7 separate regions of the Homo sapiens genome follow, and regions 1, 2, 3, 5, 6 and 7 are each linked to region 4. The links are contacts of gene promoters, found by promoter capture Hi-C in blood cells and fetal thymus (Javierre and others, 2016). All regions are on one chromosome and are shown on one strand. Each heading gives the region's core, a stretch centred on a gene start or on the middle of the fragment in contact. The rest is flanking DNA. Distances are from core to core; before and after follow the strand shown.

What was found. The method cuts DNA at HindIII sites, captures the fragments that hold promoters and counts their contacts. A CHiCAGO score of 5 or more calls a contact.
Region 1: a contact is called between a fragment that was not itself captured here and the fragment with the promoter of POLG2 in region 4, in 1 of 17 cell types (monocytes). The highest score is 6.4, in monocytes.
Region 2: a contact is called between a fragment that was not itself captured here and the fragment with the promoter of POLG2 in region 4, in 1 of 17 cell types (monocytes). The highest score is 9.5, in monocytes.
Region 3: a contact is called between the fragment with the promoter of PRR29 here and the fragment with the promoter of POLG2 in region 4, in 13 of 17 cell types (monocytes, erythroblasts, M1 macrophages and 10 more). The highest score is 11.3, in monocytes.
Region 5: a contact is called between a fragment that was not itself captured here and the fragment with the promoter of POLG2 in region 4, in 2 of 17 cell types (monocytes and megakaryocytes). The highest score is 6.0, in monocytes.
Region 6: a contact is called between a fragment that was not itself captured here and the fragment with the promoter of POLG2 in region 4, in 1 of 17 cell types (monocytes). The highest score is 6.5, in monocytes.
Region 7: a fragment that was not itself captured here is called in contact with the fragment with the promoter of POLG2 in region 4 in 1 of 17 cell types (monocytes); the score reaches 5.2 in monocytes.

The regions. Positions count from the first base shown.
Region 1 is chr17:64,081,168-64,083,926 of GRCh38, forward strand. All of the region lies in intron 2 of ERN1 (endoplasmic reticulum to nucleus signaling 1), which reads right to left. Among named protein-coding and RNA genes, the nearest start is that of ERN1, 48 kb to the right of the region's middle. RefSeq lists an enhancer at 1,191-1,310. The HindIII fragment of the contact is 4,037 bases long and covers 1-2,759 here.
Region 2 is chr17:64,064,830-64,067,529 of GRCh38, forward strand. ERN1 (endoplasmic reticulum to nucleus signaling 1) reads right to left here. Exons shown (of 22, transcript NM_001433.5): 8 at 1,842-2,103; 9 at 380-458. Among named protein-coding and RNA genes, the nearest start is that of ICAM2, 46 kb to the left of the region's middle. The HindIII fragment of the contact is 3,663 bases long and covers 1-2,700 here.
Region 3 is chr17:63,997,000-63,999,699 of GRCh38, forward strand. It overlaps PRR29 (proline rich 29), which reads left to right and starts at 1,352. Exons shown (of 6, transcript NM_001164257.2): 1 at 1,352-1,425; 2 at 1,708-1,783; 3 at 1,969-2,075. The coding sequence starts at 1,366. It overlaps PRR29-AS1 (PRR29 antisense RNA 1), which reads right to left. Exons shown (of 3, transcript NR_126169.1): 1 at 1,326-2,700; 2 at 766-923; 3 at 1-264. RefSeq lists a silencer at 1,235-1,284 and an enhancer at 1,538-2,515. The HindIII fragment of the contact is 13,369 bases long and covers 1-2,700 here.
Region 4 is chr17:64,495,650-64,498,349 of GRCh38, forward strand. It overlaps POLG2 (DNA polymerase gamma 2, accessory subunit), which reads right to left and starts at 1,405. Exons shown (of 8, transcript NM_007215.4): 1 at 758-1,405. The coding sequence starts at 1,319. It overlaps DDX5 (DEAD-box helicase 5), which reads right to left. Exons shown (of 13, transcript NM_004396.5): 13 at 2,605-2,700. It also overlaps a transcript of MILR1 not described here. RefSeq lists enhancers at 582-1,441, 1,093-1,162, 1,543-1,682. The HindIII fragment of the contact is 2,967 bases long and covers 1-1,878 here.
Region 5 is chr17:64,013,718-64,016,417 of GRCh38, forward strand. The region is part of intron 1 of ICAM2 (intercellular adhesion molecule 2); the gene reads right to left. Among named protein-coding and RNA genes, the nearest start is that of ICAM2, 5.6 kb to the right of the region's middle. The HindIII fragment of the contact is 3,017 bases long and covers 1-2,700 here.
Region 6 is chr17:64,169,751-64,172,450 of GRCh38, forward strand. It overlaps TEX2 (testis expressed 2), which reads right to left. Exons shown (of 12, transcript NM_001288732.2): 7 at 1,350-1,449. Among named protein-coding and RNA genes, the nearest start is that of SNORA50C, 25 kb to the left of the region's middle. The HindIII fragment of the contact is 4,971 bases long and covers 1-2,700 here.
Region 7 is chr17:64,039,645-64,042,344 of GRCh38, forward strand. ERN1 (endoplasmic reticulum to nucleus signaling 1) reads right to left here. Exons shown (of 22, transcript NM_001433.5): 22 at 1-2,700. Among named protein-coding and RNA genes, the nearest start is that of ICAM2, 20 kb to the left of the region's middle. The HindIII fragment of the contact is 3,607 bases long and covers 1-2,700 here.

The DNA of each region.
Region 1 (2,759 bases), core at 221-2,720, 410 kb before region 4:
CTCAAAGACTTCTAAAACCTTAATCATTACCTTGTCCGATGCCTGGAGTAGCTCTACATATTCCCATTAGGAAAAGTAAAATGGGTTTAAGAACTAACTTTGATTGGCCAGTAAATGGACACACCTCTTTGGAGCGGCAATTCTAGAGCCTCCAAGTGTTCATTCCCTTTGGCCCCCCCATTGCATTTTTATAAAATCTAATTTAAAGACAATATAAACTATAGAAAATGGTTTTTGTACAAAGATGTGTACGTAGCAGCATTACAAATGACCTACCCAATAATATGGTTAAGTTATAGAATGTCCACTTGGCAAAAAATTAAGGCTTCTAAGAGGGCTAATAAAATTTTAAGACATATACAAACCTATGCTATTATGTTCAGGAGAAAAGATAACATTGTACATAGAGTATTAATGCAACTATGGGGAAAGGCTTCAATGTACCTAATTAGATGGAAAGATCAAAAATGCTAATTGTAAGTTATCCTTGTTGGAAATGCAACTCCCCCCAACCTTTTCTATATCTTAAAATTTCTGCAAGAGCAGGCATTACTTTTTAAATTGAGAACACGTTTTTTTCTCTAAGTCAATTTTACATTTGCAGCAATTAATGGCAGAATTCTTCCCTCCCTAGATTTTCCTGGGCACAAAGCAAGAGGAAGCTCCTGATTCCAGGGGCAGATGGTGGTGGCAGTGAGAGAGCATGAACACTGGCACAGCAGCACTGTGTAGTGACAGATCCAAAAGTCCGCAGGCAGGAGACTCACAGCGATGAGGTATTTCCAGCAACCAAAACCCCACAGCCATGCTATACACAACTTAATCTCTGGGGGGCAAGAACAGCAAGTATTCTTACATGATTTTGTATGCAGAATTCCAGACTCTGTAGGCTCTGCTTATGGTGACAGACGGCTGTCCAATCCATCCAATTATTGGATGAAGGAAAATCTTTTAAGCCTTATCATATGTTGACTTTGCTTAAAAGCCCAGCTCCTATACAAAGGCATATGGTGTTCACAACAACAGAGGTGTACACACACCATATGCGGTCTGTGGGCAGCAAACAAACAACTCACTAAACCAAAAACACTCTAGGAAACAGGAAGAACTTTCAGTCAGTAAGCACATGTTTATCTTTCCCATTAATCACCTCTCGGTACACTCTCACAAACAGACTGATGCAAGAGACAGGAAATAAAGGCACACCACACTCATCCTACTGAAACAAGCTAGTCAAGGTGCAATAACCCAGTTATTTTAACACCGGCCTGAAGGCATGCAAGCCAAGAAGAGCAAGAATATCATATTCCGAAGAAAACACAGCAGTAAAATGGCATCTTTTTTGTTTGTTTCAGCCACTTAAAGGTATCACAGATAAACACAGATTAAGAGGACATGGCCAAATTCCAGGAATTCACCAGAAACAAGACATGCAGACCAACATGATTTAAATTCCTGTTCATAACCTGATCTTTGCTGTACAGTGTTTGCTCAGTCACACAGACTCGTCTTCAGATGCAGATTTTCCTGGTTTTCTATAGCTTATCCACTGGTCACCTGACACTGAGGCCTCAGGTCCCAAGATATGCCCTGTATCAGGAAGGTTCCAGTTAAGATTCAGGACATTGGCAGGAGACAGGGGAAGATTCCCGGGACAACTACATTGGTGTTTAAGAACTGTGATTTTTTTTTTCTAGGCTTAGGAGAAGATAAACTCCAGTAGGAGGGCCTTATGGTTATCTTAGCATTTCCCATCCACTCAGTAAAATAAGCACCTGGAATAAGCCTCTTCAAAGCTGCAGCCCAGGTAAAGACACAATTATTAAGACAGTTCTGACAGAGGCAGACACACTGCTGCTTGGCTTCTGAAATGTAACAATGACCTAATTCTGTAAATGTTTTTCTTTAAGAATCATCTGAATTCAAGATTTGCTTTAAAATACTACAGAAAATAATTATACGGGGGGCGGGGAGGACAGATAAAACAAGAAGTGGCAGGCTGTTGATAACAGTTAAAGATGAGACACGGGAACACTGGAGTGTTATTTTACTACTCTCTGTACATATGGTTAAATTTTTTCATATTAAAAAAGGTTAAAGAGAAAATTATCTTTGGAAAGTCAGCAAAAATAAAAAGAGCATTATCTGAAAATGTGCACTAAAAGAGTAACATGAAAAAGTGGTTTTGATTTAATAATGAGAACTGATATCAGGTAAGATTCTTGCTTTAAAAAAAAAAGTTTTCAGCCATGTGAAAAGAAACACTGTCCTACCTGTAGGGATGTAAACAAATACTGCTGTAAAATAAGCCACTATCTATATGGGGCCCGATAAGAATAAAAGCCAATGTCACCAAGTTGTTTTACTTTCAGAAAAAAAAAGTTGTGGGGGAGTTACTTCACAAATATAAAAAGTGGCTGTTATGTAAGGTAAAGGTAAGGTTATCTGGTAAAGGTAGAGGGAAAATATAGCTGAAATCAAGGTTTGGTCTCCCAGGATTAACACGGGAAAGAAACAAACCTGCTCACTGATCCCCTGGGAGCAGCCACTGGCCTCAACTCCACTCCCCGGCCCCCATCGTGTGTCCAGCTGAGGCCTGGAATGGCACAAGTTTTACACCTGCAGGAACTGACATCCTGGGTGAGGTCACAAGATGCTCATTGCTAGGCTAATCTAAATCACTTCTTTAAGCTCAAATAACAAAACAGACGTCCACATCTTTCCTTTGTCCAAGTTCATAAGGGTAAAGTTTTAAACAT
Region 2 (2,700 bases), core at 58-2,557, 430 kb before region 4:
GATGAACATGGGGCTTGTAGAAGTCAGGGAGAAGGTGCACATGGTTGGGCCACGCAACTCACATAGAGAAACTAACAGGGTGGAGGAAGGGCATCGTGGGACTGGATGAAGCAGGGCCATGAACACCAGCCTGGGGAGTTTAGATTTGATCACAAAAGCAAAAGGGAATAATCAGGGATTCCTCGGCTTTAAGAAGCTGTTTTTGTCATGTATCTTTCTTTCAAAGTAGAATGTGGCATGTGCAGAAACTGTTTTTGAGAACTTAAGATTTGTGTTTTTCATTCTTAACCTGCAGGATGCTCATGCATAGCAAAGTCATTCTTTGCTAAAATGGAACAGAAGTGGTTAGGCAGCTGCGAGCCCTCCGTAGTGGACTTACCACGACAGCAACCCCCTCGTGTACCATTGAGGGAGAGGCATAGAGGCTGGTAGAGTATTTCCCAACATACAGAGTGGGCCTAGGAGAAAAACAGATACATGCATTCCAGAGTCATTGAATTTCCAGATCCCACAGAAGGGAGTAATCATCACCCCAAATACCACCCGCAGGGATGACCACATTAACCCCCCAGACATGGAGGAACGCAGTAGGGGTGTGAAGCTAGGGGCACTGCCCTGGGAACAGGACCACAGGACTTCATCCCAGCTGTCACTCACTGCAGAAACATGGACAAGCCACCTAATGGCAAGCCTCAGCAAAATCGCAGGGCTGGACTAGACGATGCCCATGATGCCTGCAGAAAGGACTACGCCCAGTGGCCACAGAGGAGACTGAGTGCTTACTACCACCGCCGAGGCCCCTCAGATGACTCTCTACAACACACTTTCACTCCAGCGATCACTCCAGCGACCACCAGAACTACCCCCATTCTGCCTTGTGCTTTCTAAGGATCCTGGAGGTTTTACAGAACTCCTGAGAAATGGTCAGCTGCTCTACTCTGGATGCTGAGAGCAAAAGGGATGCATAAGAAATTCCAGACTTGGTGAGACTTCTGGTTCCCCAGCTGTGTAGTCTGTCCCCATGTGGGACATCAGGGAGACAGAAAATGGTGAGAGCTACACCTCCTGGCCCTTCTGCTTACTGTCAAGAGCCCACCTGGGATCGGTCATCCACTACATTATCTAAACCTCTCTCAACGAATACCTTACATTTGAATGCTGTTTTACAATCTAAACACTTGCCGGCATATTATCTTGTTTGATCTTCCACACAACTCTATATATAAAGTAGGAAACTGAGGCTTGGGGAGTTTAAGTGACTCGGTGATAGGCTATGAAGAGGGGGATGGAGAACAGAAGCCTGCTGAGTCTTGGACACACACACACACTGTAACTATTTTTTCTGATTTTTAAAATGAATATAACCTAAAAACTTAGAAAATATAGAAAGTTAAAAAAATAAATCTCTTGCATCCCTACCACCTAAGATAGATCCAAACTATACTTACACTGGCAGTCTCTTTCCTATACCTTTATTTGTGTGTGTGTGGTGGCAGGGGGAGGGTCTTGCCATGTTGCCCAGGTTGGCCTCAAACTCCTGTGCTCAAACAATCCTCCCACCTCAGCCTCTCAAGTAGCTGGAATTACAGGTGTATGCCATGGTGCCCGACACCTCCCATCCATGATTTTTATGTAATATTTAATAACTCTGAAGTGTTAATGGGTGCCCCTCAGCTCTTGTATTCTGAGGTTTCCAAATGAAACAGTCTTGGCTCTGAATATTCCTCATGGCTTCAGAGACTGCCCTGTCTTTGGCCTCCCGTGCAGGGCCTGCTACACTGCAACAGCACCAGAACACGAAGGCCACGGCCGCCCTCTCCTTCCCCGAGCTCCCAACTCACGTCAGCTTGCTCTTGGCCTCTGTCTCCTTGGGGAACGGGTACTTCCACTTTGTGATGCGCCCCACCTCCCCAGACATGAAGGTCAGATAGCGCAGGGTCTCCACAGCGACATTGATGTGCATCACCTTCCTCAGACCCTCCCGCTGCCAGACATAAAAGGCCACCACAGGGGAGGCGTAGTTTTGGATCCACAGGACGTCCCCAGATTCACTGTCCACAGTCACCACCAGCCCATCACCATTGGACACAAAGTGGGACATCTCTGTACAGATCAAATAAACAAAGCATGCTGAGTCTCACCCCATCTTGCAACCACATCCTCTACTCTTGTGGCAGGCTCTAGTCACTCAGTTAGAGGAAACAAGACTTCTGGAATATTCTCAGATCTCCTCTGAGCAATTTCACTTGTTTCCAATGAACTCGCTTAGTCTCTGTAATATCAAGACACTGAGAGCTGGCTGGCGTATAAACACAAGCCAGGATCACTCTCCCAAAGGCAATTTATTTGGTGATGTTCTTTAACACTCTATTCAATAAGTGAGAGTAAATACTGAGGAGGAAGGAGCCAGTGGAGATGCCTATTAATCTGGCATTTCATAGCAGTCACTTGAAACCCATCGATCAAACTGAAAGTCAGGGACAGCTGTGGTGGCTCATGTCTATAAGCCCAAGAATTTGGGAGGCTGAGGTAGGAAGATCACTTGAGTCCAGGACTTCAAGACCAGCCTGGGCAACATAGTGAGACCCCCGTCTCTACAAAAAAAAAAAAAAAAAAAAATTAGCCAGGTAGGTGGGGGAGTGGCGGTACGTGCCTGTGGTCCCAGCTACTCAGTAGGCTGAGGTGGGAAGATCGCTTGAG
Region 3 (2,700 bases), core at 102-2,601, 500 kb before region 4:
TTCCCCTGCTGCTTGGCCCCATCAAGGACTGACTTCCTTGGAACTCCATCCCTCAGCGGTCAAGTCCTCTCTTTTTCATTATCCCCGGGGCGTAGTCTTATCTTTCTGCTCTCTTTCCATGGATACATTTTCACTTCCCAACAATGCTGGGACAAGTGACCATACTGCTTATGCCTCCAGGGTTCAGATGGCACATTGCACACGCAGACACTTCCTTGGTCAAGGTTTGTTGATGATGAGCAAAATGGCTTGTTCTCTTTCTACCTGGAATGAGAATGGAGATGGAGAGAGGCATCTCTGTGTTCTACTCACTGGGGGGCTGTGACCCCAGTGCCTGGATCTCAGCTTGTTAATGGCTGTTGAAGCCATAAGACCCATGGGGACAGTAAAGTAATGCCCACAAGCCTGCTCCCCTAGAGACAGGTACTACGGAGCAAAGGAGGAGGTGGGAATGGTCTTTCTGGTTCTTACTCCAGGACTGGCAGGAAGGGGAGCTGACATGGAGAGTGGGGGAAGGGCTACTCGGGGTGCTAAGCCCAGCTTCCTGTCTGGATTTTCCTTGACTGCTGCCGGGGGCCTATCTTAGGATGGTCACAGCTGCAGAAATAGATCTCCCCCTTCACCTGTTCTTAAGCAAGGAAGACCTTGCTAACTTCCTGTCAAAAGAACGCGTGCTTTGGTAACTTTTCCAGTACGGGAGACAGTACTGGGGACGCGGGTGCTGAAGTCACCACGATTTTCCTCGTCTGAGGAGCAGTGGCTCACCTTGGCCAGGAAACAGGGCAAATAGCCGCAAGGAGAGAGGCGAGAAGCCGGCCACGTGTTTCCAGCCAGAGTCCTCAGCCTCTTCCGTGAATTCGGGCGGTGTTTCCTTCCTTGGTCTGCTCCAGAAACCACTCTTTCCTGGCAGGAAGCCCCTCTCTCTGTCAGAGTGACAGGGAACAGACCCTTTGTCCTCCTCACTCGTCTGCCCTAGCCCCCAGCCTGCTCCTGCAAAAGTCTCTGTTTCTCCTGAACTTTTCAGCTGAGTCAATCGGGCTCTGGGACCCCGAAACCAAGCCTCCCCAGTCACTCGCTTATTCACTCAACAAACACACCCCCCTTCCCCGCACTAACCCAGGCCCAGTTCTGGGAACCAGCAAGGGGAGGGGAGGGGAGCCCCGAGCAGCGCGGCGGGAGGTGGACATGCCGGGGAGGAGACTGGCCTCCTGGTGGCGGGGGAGGGCTCCTGGGGACCCCAAGTCCGCGGAGGAGGAGACAGGAGGGAGCAGGGAGATGGAAGACCCAGGAGCACGGGCGGGCTCCGCGCATGCGTGGGAAGAGACCTTGGCGTCCTCGGCGTCGCCAAGGCAACCGGCGCCAGCCATGGCCTCTGGGGCGGGCGGAAGCTGGGGTCGCTCCCCACCGCAGAGCGCAGTCCCGACGGTGAGGGCTGAGCCCGGGAGCAGATCCTGCCTTAGCTTGGGAGACGGCAGAGTGGGGAGCTGTCCCTGGAGGGGCCAGATCCTGGAGGGGTGGGGGACGAGGAGAGACAGCCCCAAACCGAGAGGAAGAGGCGTGGCAGGGAGCAGGGAGGCCGCGGGGCGGGGAGGAGAGAACCTGGCCCCTGCGGGGTTAGGGAGGCCACTGGCCGGGGGGGTTGGGGCTCGCGACGTGTCCCCATCCATTCCCCCCACCCCACCTGGCTGACTCCGCGCACACCCCCAGCCCTGGGTCACCTTCCTGCAGCCCCTCTCGTGGGCCGTCCCACCTGCGCCCCCGCAGCCAGGCCGCGTGAAGGAAGGTGAGACTCCCGGGTCCCCCCACCCCACCCCCACCATCACCACCACTCACCCTCTTCTGCCTCGCACATCCTCTGGGAGTCCCCGCAGCACAACCCGCCAACCCATTCTTCACCCCCGGGACAGGGGTGTCAGGGGGAGGGGGACTCGGAGGCCCGGCGTGGGCTTGCTGAACCCCGCTTCCTAGACCTGCTGGAACTGATGATGCTGCAGAACGCGCAGATGCACCAGCTGCTGCTGAGTCGCCTGGTGGCTGGAGCGCTGCAGCCCCGGCCTGCCTCGCCCTGCCCTCAGGTGCGTGTGGGTGGGCCGCCGGGGTCGCTCACCTGTGGGTCCAGGGATGCGGATCCACCTGGGGTTCCTGTTCAGGGGGGAAAAGAACTGGGAGACAGAGGAGCAGGAAGCCAGCCCGTCTCTCTGGCTGGGGCTGTTTGGCATCTGTCATGTTTCAGCCTCCATGAAAGGTTGGGGCGGGGAAGAGACCCCCCAAAGTCCAGACCACCGAGGTCTTGTTTTCAAGGAGGTTTCCCTGTAGTGCCTCCCCCACTGGACTTAAGGCTCCAGGAAGGTAGGCACCCTGGTAACCCTGCCCCATGCATCATGAGCGTCTGGCCTGGTGCCTGACACCGTGTAGGGGCTCAGCTGATATTTGTTGAACGAGTGAATGAATAAATGAATGGTTAGGGATACAAAGCCAGGTTGGCTGTGATGGCACATGGAGAGGTACAAAGCACAAGTGCACATAGGGTTGGGGGATGGGGACAGGCTCCTTGGAGGAGCAGAGGATCTTAGAACCAGCCCTTGAAAGCCAGGTAGGATTTTGACCCTTGGAGGAGGCGAAGGGTGTGTCCCCCATCCAGGCTGGCAGGGGCAGAGTCAGGAGACAGAATGGGGGAAACCGTGTGCGGCAGTGTGTGTG
Region 4 (2,700 bases), core at 155-2,654:
ATATTATCTCTTCTTTTACAATGAATATCTTGGTTCCTAATAACAACTAACCCAACTATTTGAATTTTTTTTTTTTAAGACGGAGTTTTGCTCTTGTCACCCAAGCTGGAGTGCAGTGGCGTGATCTCGGCTCACTGCAACCTCTGCCTCCTGGGTTCAAGCGATTCTCCTGCCTCAGCCTCCCAAGTAGCTGGGATTACAGGCGCTCGCCGTCACGGCCGGCTAATTTTTGTCTTTTTAGTAGAGACGGGGTTTCACCATGTTGGCCAGGCTAGTCTCGAACTCCTGACCTCAGGTGATCCACCCGCCTCTGCCTTGCAAAATGCTGGGATTACAGGCGTGAGCCACTGCGCCTGGCCTTGATTTATCCTATGATATACATGAAATAGTTTCAGAATTATAATTTCAACATTTTTACTTAGAATAAATCTAAGAAAAGTTCAAAATGTCTGTGTAGTTCCTTATGCACTTAGACTACATTGCACTAAATGACAGCACTGTGTTCAGAAGTTGCCCCGTGAAATTGAGAGCGTTCCCAGGTCCTTCGGACAGATTGTTTAAGGAACAGCAATGATTCCATGGACCAGTTTTCTCCAGGGTAGAGCACTGTTAATATATCCGACTACTTCAAAAAGATGAGAACTAACTAACTTCCTTGCATGGGAATACAGGGCCAGTTGCAATCCCCAAGATCCAGCAAGACTGCCTCGCCTTTCCACCCGACACCTGTTTTGAAGCATGAAATCGTGAAGCATACCGTGAAGAAGGTTCTCCCGTAGTTTCCCAGAAGTTTTTAATACGTTCTCAAGAAATGCTACTAGCTGTTCCTTACTCAGCTCTTTGTCTTGCAAGATTTCGCGTAGAGTTTCTGCAGAAACTAACCTGAAGGCACTGTCCCCGGGTAGCAAAGGGCCTGGTTTGTGGTGGAGGGCGTCCACCGGGAATACCTGCTCCCTGAACACCACCACCGAGGTCCACCATTCTGCGGCCAGGTTCTTCCGCAACTCTACGCCCAAGGGTCCGAAGCCGGGGTGGCACCCACTCAGAAGAGAATCCCGGCTAAGCTGCTGCTTGCTTCCACTTAGGAAATGCCTTCTCTGACAGATCTCTAACAGCGCCTCGCTTCCCTCTCCAGACCCGGGGGCTTCTGGGTGCTCGCCGTTCCCCTCGAGCTCCGCGTGCGACTTCACATGCCCTCCTTTGGGGCTACTCCTTTCCGTCAACAGCTCCGGCTGCCCCGCATCTACTCGACCCCCAAACCCAGACAACAGGCACCTGCAGACCTTATGGCAGGCCCTGACGGCTACACGAGAGCGCATCTCTCTCCGAAGTTAAAGAGCACACTCTCCCATCACTCAACGGATCCCAACAAGCCACCACTACCGTTAACAGAATCCGGAGAGGCCACGGCGCAGGCGCAACGGAGGTGAGCGTGCTTGCGGGCGGCAGGCCCCACCCCGGAAGCGCATGTCTGCGTTCCGGCCGCAGCCGTCCCCCGCCCACCATGGCGGACGCCGGCTCGGATGGTTCTCTGCTAGCTTGCCGTTCGCGTCGCGCCCCTCCCTTCAGATTGACTTTTTTCTTTCCTCGTAAGCACCAGTAAAGGTTATTCCCACCTATTTATAACCGTGGTGTAGCCACTTGAGTCACTTCCTTCTGCCACTGTTTTGCAGTCCAGAAAATTAAAATACTTCAGTATTATCCAAATCACCTTCTATATACACCTCAATCAAGCACTTGGACTAAATTTGGCATTTGGTTTCCCTTTAAACAGTTTTAGTCCTTTACGGTGATTTGTAAGCCCAGGCCTTCTTAACTAGGCAAATGCTGCCGCCAGGTGGCCTAGGCCTAACCCCAGAGCCGTTGTCTTGACGCTTAAGCTTCCGGGGAGGGGGGCGATAGGCTTCGTGACTAGGGTAGTGGTATGGTCACTTTAAATATTGCAGTGGCTTCCAAAGGGCAGTCCCCAGCCAGCAGCATCTGCCTCACCTGGGAATGCACTAGAAATAAACCAAGGGGCCCTGACATGTCTTAAACCCTCCTGGTGTCAGAGAAAACCACGTACGTGCAATTTCTTCCAGGGGCCCCTTCTATGGGTTCATCAAAACAATGAGACTTGTGACTGTTATTATTAAGAGACTCATGATTAAATTGCAGGTTTCTGATTTTGCAGTTTCTATTTAAATAGGTCGAGACCTTAAGACCTACCCAGAAAGTGGAAAAGTGGTATACCCAGACTGAGGAAGTTTGATTCCAAAGTCCATGATTTCTTATACCAGCCTCAGTTACGAAAACCTTTAAAGAGGTTCAGGGAAAAAGGAACAATCTACATTTCACTGTGAGACTACCAAACTACTACCTGATTAAGAGGGGTAACAGCTTAGCAATTGAGTTAATGTAATTCAGGAGTAAAGTTTTATCATTAGTAAAGTGCTGTACCAGGTTCAGGAAATAGTTCTTCTTTACAAGTGTATACAAGGGTTTAAAAAAAGGCCAGCTAGATAGTAATTAACTGCAAAGCTGGGTACTACTGCCAGGTGTTTTCCACATTCAGGAACTCACACCAGGTAAAAGGCCTATACGCAAATAAATAAAAAGAGAGAATGGGGAGAAAAATCACATTTATTAGTTAAGACGACCACAGGCTGGACACAACACACATGCTAAAAAGTGGACTGTCTTTTAAAACTTCCAAGGTAA
Region 5 (2,700 bases), core at 185-2,684, 480 kb before region 4:
ACCTAGAATAAAGGGTCAATTCACCAGGAAGTTACAATAGTTCTAAACTTCTATATAGAAGTTTCTATATAGAACTATATACTTCTATATATACTCTTTATAGTTCTATATACTCCCATATAGAACTATAAAGAGGTAAAACCACCATCACAACAGGAAATTTTAACATATGTCTCTTACTTATGAGTAATGATGCGGACAGAAAAAAAAATCAGTGGTGTAAATGCTTGAACTGCATCTATAAAGTAGAGAATACAAATTCTTCAAGAAGATGAGTTTTAAAACGCTTATATATTTGACAGTTTAAAAACATAATCTAATGCATTGGTCAAAGAAGAAATCATAATGACACATTTATAAATTCCTAAAATTGAATGATAATGAAAATATCATGTTAAAATTTCTGCGAGGCGCAAAAGTTGTGCTTGGAGGGAAATCTATAGCCTAGAATGCTTGTATTAGAAAAGAACTCTGGGCCAGATGCAGTGGCTCATGCCTGTAATTCCAGCACTTTGGGAGGCCAAGGCAGGAGGATTGCCCCTGCCCAGGAATTTGAGACAGGCCTGGGCAACATGGTAAGATCACATCTGAAAGAAGGAAGGAAGGAAGGAAGGAAAGAAAGAAAGAAAGAAAGAAAGAAAGAAAGAAAGAAAGAAAGAAAGGAAGGAAGGAAGGAAGGAAGGAAGGAAGAGAAAGAGAAAGAAAGGAAGGAAGGAAGGAAGAGAGAGAGAGAGAAGGAGAGAGAGAGGGGAAGGAAGGAAGGAAGAAAGAAAGAAAGGAAGGAAGGAAGGGAGAGAGAGAGAAAGAAAGAAAGAGAGAGAGAAAGGAAGGAAGGAAGAAAGAAAGAGAGAGAGAAAGGAAGGAAGGAAGGAAGAAAGAAAGAAAGGGAGGGAGGGAGGGAGAGAGAGAGAAAGAAAGAAAGAGAGAGAGAGAAAGAAAGGAAGAAAGAGAGAAAGAAAGAAAGGAAGGAAGGAAGGAAGGAAGGAAGGAAGGAAGGAAGGAAGGAAGAAAGAAAGAAAGAAAGAAAGAAAGAAAGAAAGAAAGAAAGAAAAAGAAAGAAGGAAAATAAGTCTGATGGCCAGGCATGGTGACTCATGCCTATAATCCTAGCACTTTGGGAGGCCAAGGCGGAAGGATCACCTGAGCTCAGGGGTTTGAGACCAGCCTGGGCAACATAGTGCGATATTATCTCTCTATTAAAATAAAAAATATTACAAAAAAACCCTTCCCTACAAAACTCAATAGGATAGGCAAGTCTCCAGTGAAATCGATATATAAAGAAAAAGAAGGCATGCGTAAACATGATTAGGAATGTAAATGGAAACGTAAACATGAGAAGAAAGAAAACTATACAAATTTATAGAAACAGAAAGTGAAACAGTAGTTGCCAGGGGCTGTGGGAGAGGGGAAATGAGAGTCCTTTAAATGGATTTAGTTCTGGTTTTGCAAGATGGAAAAATTTCTGGAGATGGGTTGCAAAACAATGAGAACATACTTAGCATTAATTGCTGAAGTGTACACTTAAAAATGGTTAATTTGGTACATTTTATGTTATGTGTATTTTACCACAATGAAAAATAAAGAAGACTATAAAAAAGTTATGCTACAACATAGGAATTGAAGTAGATCAAGTCTTAGACAAATATAACTTACCAAACTTATTTAAGAAGAAATAAAAAGCCTAAATGGTTCTATAACTATTAAAGAAATTGAATCAGGGCCGGGCATAGTGGCTCACAGGTAATTCCAAGAAAGTGCTTACGGCTAATCCCAGCACTTTGGAAGGCTGAGGTGGGAAGATCCCTTAAGCCCAAGAGTTTGAGACCAGCATGGGCAACATGACAAAACCCCATCTCTACAAAAAATACAAAAACTAGCCAGGCGTGGTGGTGCACGCCTGTAGTCACAACTACTTGGGAGGTGGAGTTAGGGGGATGGCTTGAGCCTGGGAGGTTGAGGCTGCAGTAAACCGAGATTACGCCACTGTACTCTAGCCTAGGTAACAAAGTGAGACCATGTCTCCAAGAAAAAAATAAAAGAAAACAAAAAAACTTGAATCCGTAATTTAAAGATCTTCCCATGAAGAAAATACCAGGTCTAGATGGTTTTGCAGAAGTTCAAGTAAGGGTAACTCTTTAAAAAAAATTATTATTATTATTTTTTTTAGAAATGGAGTTTTGCTGTATTGCCCAGGCTAGTCTCAAACTCTTGGGCTCAAGAGATCTTCCTGCCTTAGTCTCTTGAGTAACTGGGACTATAGGCATACAGCACTGTGCCTGGTTAGTAATTCTAATTTTATAAAAACTCTCTCTGAGAATGGAAAAAATGAAAACATTAACTCTTTCCATGAGGCCAGTGTAACCTTAATATCTAAACAAGACAAGTACAGGAAGAGAAAGCAATATTAGAGGCCAGTTTCACTCATGACTATAAATGCAACAGTTATAAGAAAAATACTGGTAAATCAAATCCGGCAGTGTAAAAACCAAAAGGCATCACATTCTAGTTGGGTTTATCTCAGGTTTGCAAGGATGGTTTAACAACGAAGAAATGTCTATAAACATTATTTATTATGTTGGTAATAGTAGACTTTGGTGCTCTGTGTCATATCACTTCTGCCCTCTGCTGATTTCAGCTGTCCCTACAGTGGATGATTTTGTGCAAGCCTAGACTCCCTTTTAAGCTGCCAGTGCCCCTCCA
Region 6 (2,700 bases), core at 1-2,500, 330 kb before region 4:
GAAAAGTAGCTTCCATGCTCTACAAATTTTATAAAACATTTACTTTAAAACAACTATCACTCTCTTGAAAAGCTATAATTAGTTTTTCTCCTACCTTGTTCCTAAGCCATTTTAGGAAAAATGTAAATATGGTTGAAGTGGAAAGAGGCTCACTTGCCAAGGGAGGCTACAGTAAAAACGTCAGTGAGAATTCTCTCTGCATGCTAATGGGCTATTCTGGCCTACCTGGCTCATTCCTCTTTTTTTACCAAACTCCTGTGTACTAAATTTTCCCTGTCAAGATCCTTTTAAAACCGTATTTATGGTTTATGTGACATAAGAGATACAAATCCTTACATCATCATCATCATCATGTTACACAAACTCTCTACAATCTGATCAACTCTTTAACCCCCCACCCACAAAAGCAGACATAAATAATGTCTTAGTAACATGTTTAAAAACTCAAATCTGAGAACTTTCCTCCAGCAAGGAGCCCTACTCTCAAAATATTGCCTTTGAATATACTGTACGTCTTCATTTCTCAAACATGTACTGAGCACCTACTAGGAGTAGCAAGGAACATAAAGACAGAAGACATGAAAGTCAAAAAATCTGGAACCTACAAGTCAGGAGAGGTAAGGATGTGAACACATGTGAGGAGAGGCAGCTCCTGGCAAGCGGCTAGGGCTGGGGCAGCTGCACCCGTGAGGGCCATGAGAGGTGAGCGGAACTGAAATCCAGCCACTGCCTCATGCCCTGGCAAGGGCTGCAACCCCTACAAAAGCACAGGCCCCATCAGCTGGCATGTGTGCATCACTGGGCTGGAGGAGGCCCTATAATAACCAAGAGACTAAAAGACTTAGGATGGGAGCTTGGATCTATTCCAAATCTTTTTTTTTTTTTTTTTTTTTTTTTGTGAGACAGAGTCTCGCTCTTGTCATCCAGGCTGGAGTCCAGTGGCACGATCTTGGCTCACTGCAACCTCCGTCTCCTGGGTTCAAGCGATTCTCCTGCCTCAGCCTCCTGAGTAGCTGGGATTACAGGCACCCGCCACCACGCCCGACTAATTTTTGTACTTTTTTAGTAGAGACGGTGTTTTGCCATGTTGGCCAGGCTGGCCTCGAATTCCTGACCTCAGGTGATCCGCCTGCCTTGGCCTCCCAAAATGCTGGGATTACAGGCGTAAGCCACCATGCCCGGCCCCAAATCAGTTTTAAGGCCATGACTGGTAAGAACAGAAAGACACTCAACATGAAACAGATGATTTAAAAAGTCCTCAACACCCTCCAAACACAAAGCCATCATGGTACTGAATCTGCAGCAAAGGATATATTTTAACACTCATAGAATGGTCAGTTAGGAGTTACCTTGGTGATCAACGTAAGGCTTGAAGGCCTGGAGGATTTTTGGCACAGCCACGCCCATGTCAAGTTCCGTCAGAGTGAGCTCATTCATAAAGTAGGGGAGCTAGAGGAAACAAGCAAACAATGAGTGAGACCCATGAGCAACCTACAAAACATGCTGTTGCAAGTCAACATGCTTCCGGAGAGGATGGTGGCCAAGGTTTTGGGGACATATCATTTATGTAACGAAAACGTAATGTGCACACATCATGTACTAGGCTTCGTACTCCAGACAGAGCCATGAAGAGGTCAGGCCAGGGCCTGGCTCTCACGGGGTTTATAATAGAAAGGCAGAAACAGGTAAATACATAGACAATATACTTCCAGAGAGTGATTAGTGCTGCAAAGAACATCAAGCAGGTAATGGGCAGAGGGAACACGGGGGTGGCTGTTTTGGCTGAGGAGGTCAGGGATGGCTTCCCTGAGGAGTGGCATTTGAGCAGAGGCCACCTATGGAGAAGGAGCCAGCCATGCTGGTTAACAGTACCCCACATTTGCTGAAGTATGGGAAAACAGACCTCTCTCAGACTCTCAGTGGGTAGTAAGAAACTGCTACAACAAGGTCAGGTGCGGTGGCTCATGTCTGTAATCCCAACACTTTGGGAGGCCAAGGTGGATGGATCACTTGAGGTCAGGAGTTCGAGACCAGCCTGGCCAACATGGTGAAACCCCAACTCTACCAAAAAATACAAAAATCCACCAGGCAAGGTGGCATGCACTTGTAGTCCCAGCTACTCGGAGAGGCTGAGGTGGGAGGATCACTTGAACCTGGGGGCAGAGGTTGCGGTGAGCTGAGAATGTGCCACTGCACCCCAGCCTGGAGGACAGAGCGAGACTCTGCGTCAAAAAAAAAAAAAAAAGAAAAGAAGAGAAATTGCTACATTTCCGATAGGCAAACTTACATGTGTATGAAAATCCTTGAAAAACAGCACATGCTGGCCAGGCGCAGTGGCTCACGCCTGTAATCCCAGCACTTTGGGAGGCCGAGGTGGGCGGATCACGAGGTCAAGAGATTGAGACCATCCTGGCTAACACGGTGAAACCCGTCTCTACTAAATATACAAAAAATTAGCCGGGTGTGGTGGCACGTGCCTGTAGTCCCAGCTACTCAGGAGGCTGAGGCAGGAGAATTGCTTGAACCTGAGAGGTGGAGGTTGCAGCAAGCCAAGATCGCACCACTGCACTCCAGCCTGGGTGACAGAGCGAGAATCCGTCTCAAAAAAAAAAAAAAGAAAAATAGCACATCCTTTGATCTCATGCTGAACATTTTCTGTTTGCCCTGCCAGATCTACACTCTATCCCCAGTGGTTGGTCT
Region 7 (2,700 bases), core at 179-2,678, 460 kb before region 4:
ATAGGTTAAATAAATAGGTCATTGCAAAAAGAACACTACACAAGGTTTACATCTGAGAATGCAGAGTAGGTGACTGGTAATGCTTTCTAGGTAAGTGGGGACTCCCCATCACAGCTTTAGGGACACTGAAAAGGAATACTGTATCCACCAAACACACACACAGTACACAGGGGAGGTGGGGGGGCTTTGGCCAAAGTGTTGGTTAAGGCTGCTCCAGTGGGAGGCTCACTGCAGTCACGTTCTTTGTGGCTTTCCAACGTCTACAGAAAGAATTTAAGCGCCGGTACAAAAAATCAGAACCAGAGTTACTCACGGGAAATCACTGTTTCATAAAGAAGGAGGGGAGTAGACCATTGGGTTTAAAAGATGATGTCCAACCTGGGAGGGTGGAATTTCGGCTCACCTGGAGAGGATGCCTGATGACTTCCTGCCAGGAGAAGCCAAAGCCAGGACATAGTCAACCAAAATAACTCCAGGTTGGTGAGGGAAGGGACAAGGAAAAGAAACACTGGGAAATTCAAAGAAAGGCAATCTCAGACACTAAAAGAGCAGAGAGAGAAAGCGACATGGGGGACTTAAAGAGGCTCCTTCCAGGGCGCTGGGCTTCTCTTCCAGCACAGAAGGCTGCAAAAGTGGAACTGGCCCCCAGTTCCCAGAGGATCACAAGGCCAAGGATCCAATGGGCACACCATGAGGACCCAAGGAAAGGACAGAGAAAGGAACGGCTCTGGGAAAGCCAAACCTGGCCAAAGTCCAACTTCCTGAAAAGAAAGCAGCCAAGAGGAGAAAGCCGTACAATCCAAAGGTCCCCCCATCTGCATGAACGGTTTGATCAGCAACCAATTAATCTCTCACTGCAGCAAGAAAAGAATTGCCAAAGATAACTGAATCGCATGCACACAAAACCTTACCAAAGGCTCAGGGTCAACTCTGATAAGGCCCTTTCTTCTAGAGTTGGTGGGAAGAAACTCTGCTGGATCTACTCACCTGCAGATCTTCCAGAACATCTATCTGTAACTGATCAGAGTGATGTCTCCTTGGAAGGGCCTCTGACCACCACTGCACTGAGAACACGGCGGGAGTGAGAACACCTGCGCACCCAGGATTTCACACTTAGCCACTAGATTGCTTCACAGCTAATCAGGGAAATGCCAGTGTTCCCCAGGTGAAAATGTTTTGGTGCCTAATGACTTGTGGAGCACTTCAAAAACTGAGATTAGGCCGGGTGCGGTGGCTCAAGCCTGTAATCCCAGCACTTTGGGAGGCTGAGGCAGGCGGATCACGAGGTTAGGAGATCGAGACCATCCTGCCTAACATGGGGAAACCCCGTCTCTACTAAAAAAAATATAAAAAATTAGCCGAGCGTGGTGGCACACACCTGTAATCCCAGCTACTCGGGAGGCTGAGGCAGGAGAATTGCTTGAACCAAGGAGGCGGAGGTTGCAGTGAGCTGAGGTCGTGCCACTGCACTCCAGCCTGGGTGACAGAGCGAGACTCTGTCTCAAAAAAACAAAAAACAAACGAAAAAACACTGAAATTAAAAAGACTCAAGAAGCAACAAGAGAAATTCTGGCACACGTGCCCAAGAGAGGTTTAGTAAGACAAGATTTAAATAAGTCATAGTGTCCTTTGGATTCCTAACAGATGTGACCAAGCTCCATCTTGAAGATAGCGTACAGTACTTCTAAAAAGCTCAACAGCCTTCCAGGATTGGAGAAGTCCCATAACCTGAACTACAGACCAAACAGCTAAGCCGCAACACGATATGTGATGGTGCAGAGCTGTTCTGGCCTGAAAAGAACTTTCCACTTGCTGAGCACAGTGGGAAACCAGAATTCTCGAGACTAGAACTGGATACACCAGATGATGCCCAAGGTGTTTTCATGACAAGTACCCACACGAGATCTCTTCAAACAAACCCCCCAGAGGATGGACGGGAACCAGGGCTCCTAAAGGCGACTAAGAGGAAAGACCAGAGGTGACCGGACCAGATCCCTGTGATTCTGGGACAGAAGAGATGTAAACCGCAAACACGCGCCCTTCCCCACACACTTTGGTTTCTTTGTGGCAGCAACACTTTTTTATTGTTCTCTCTCATCACAAGTTTTAGGAAAGCAGAAGTTTTGCCTGTCTTGTTCATCGCTGTATCTCCGGCACCCTATATCCTGCCTAGCTCAATACACTAAGTGCTCAAATAAAATACATTGAATAAATGATTTTGAGAAATCTGCGTGGTTAGAAACTAGTATGATAAGCAGAAAAGGCATCGGAAACAGTTGTCTCTAGGCAAGTGGGGCTAAAACAGGGAGATGACACAAAATTGGGTCACTAGAAATCACCTGGGTACTCCCAAAGAGAAAACCTGTGCTGAGAACGAGCTGGGCTGGGGGCACTCCCTGTGGCAGGCCTGTTAAATCACTCGTGGCACCTTCTCCACCTTCTGATCCTCTCTTGGGTTACTGCCAAAGCCCACAGGTAAAGCACCTTGCAGCCGTATGGGGAGCTCTGTCTCAGGCCACCTGGCATGCGGCATGGGAGCAGCAGGAAATGCGGTCTGGCCACGTTTCTGAACAACGCACAGCCTTGCTTAGAAGACGCCAAGGACACCGACCAAGGGCCAAGGTTCCAAGGCCTAAGTGAGGTAATCGATGAGATTTAAGGATGTAGGATCACGTTAATAGTAGGGAAAAAAGTCACTTT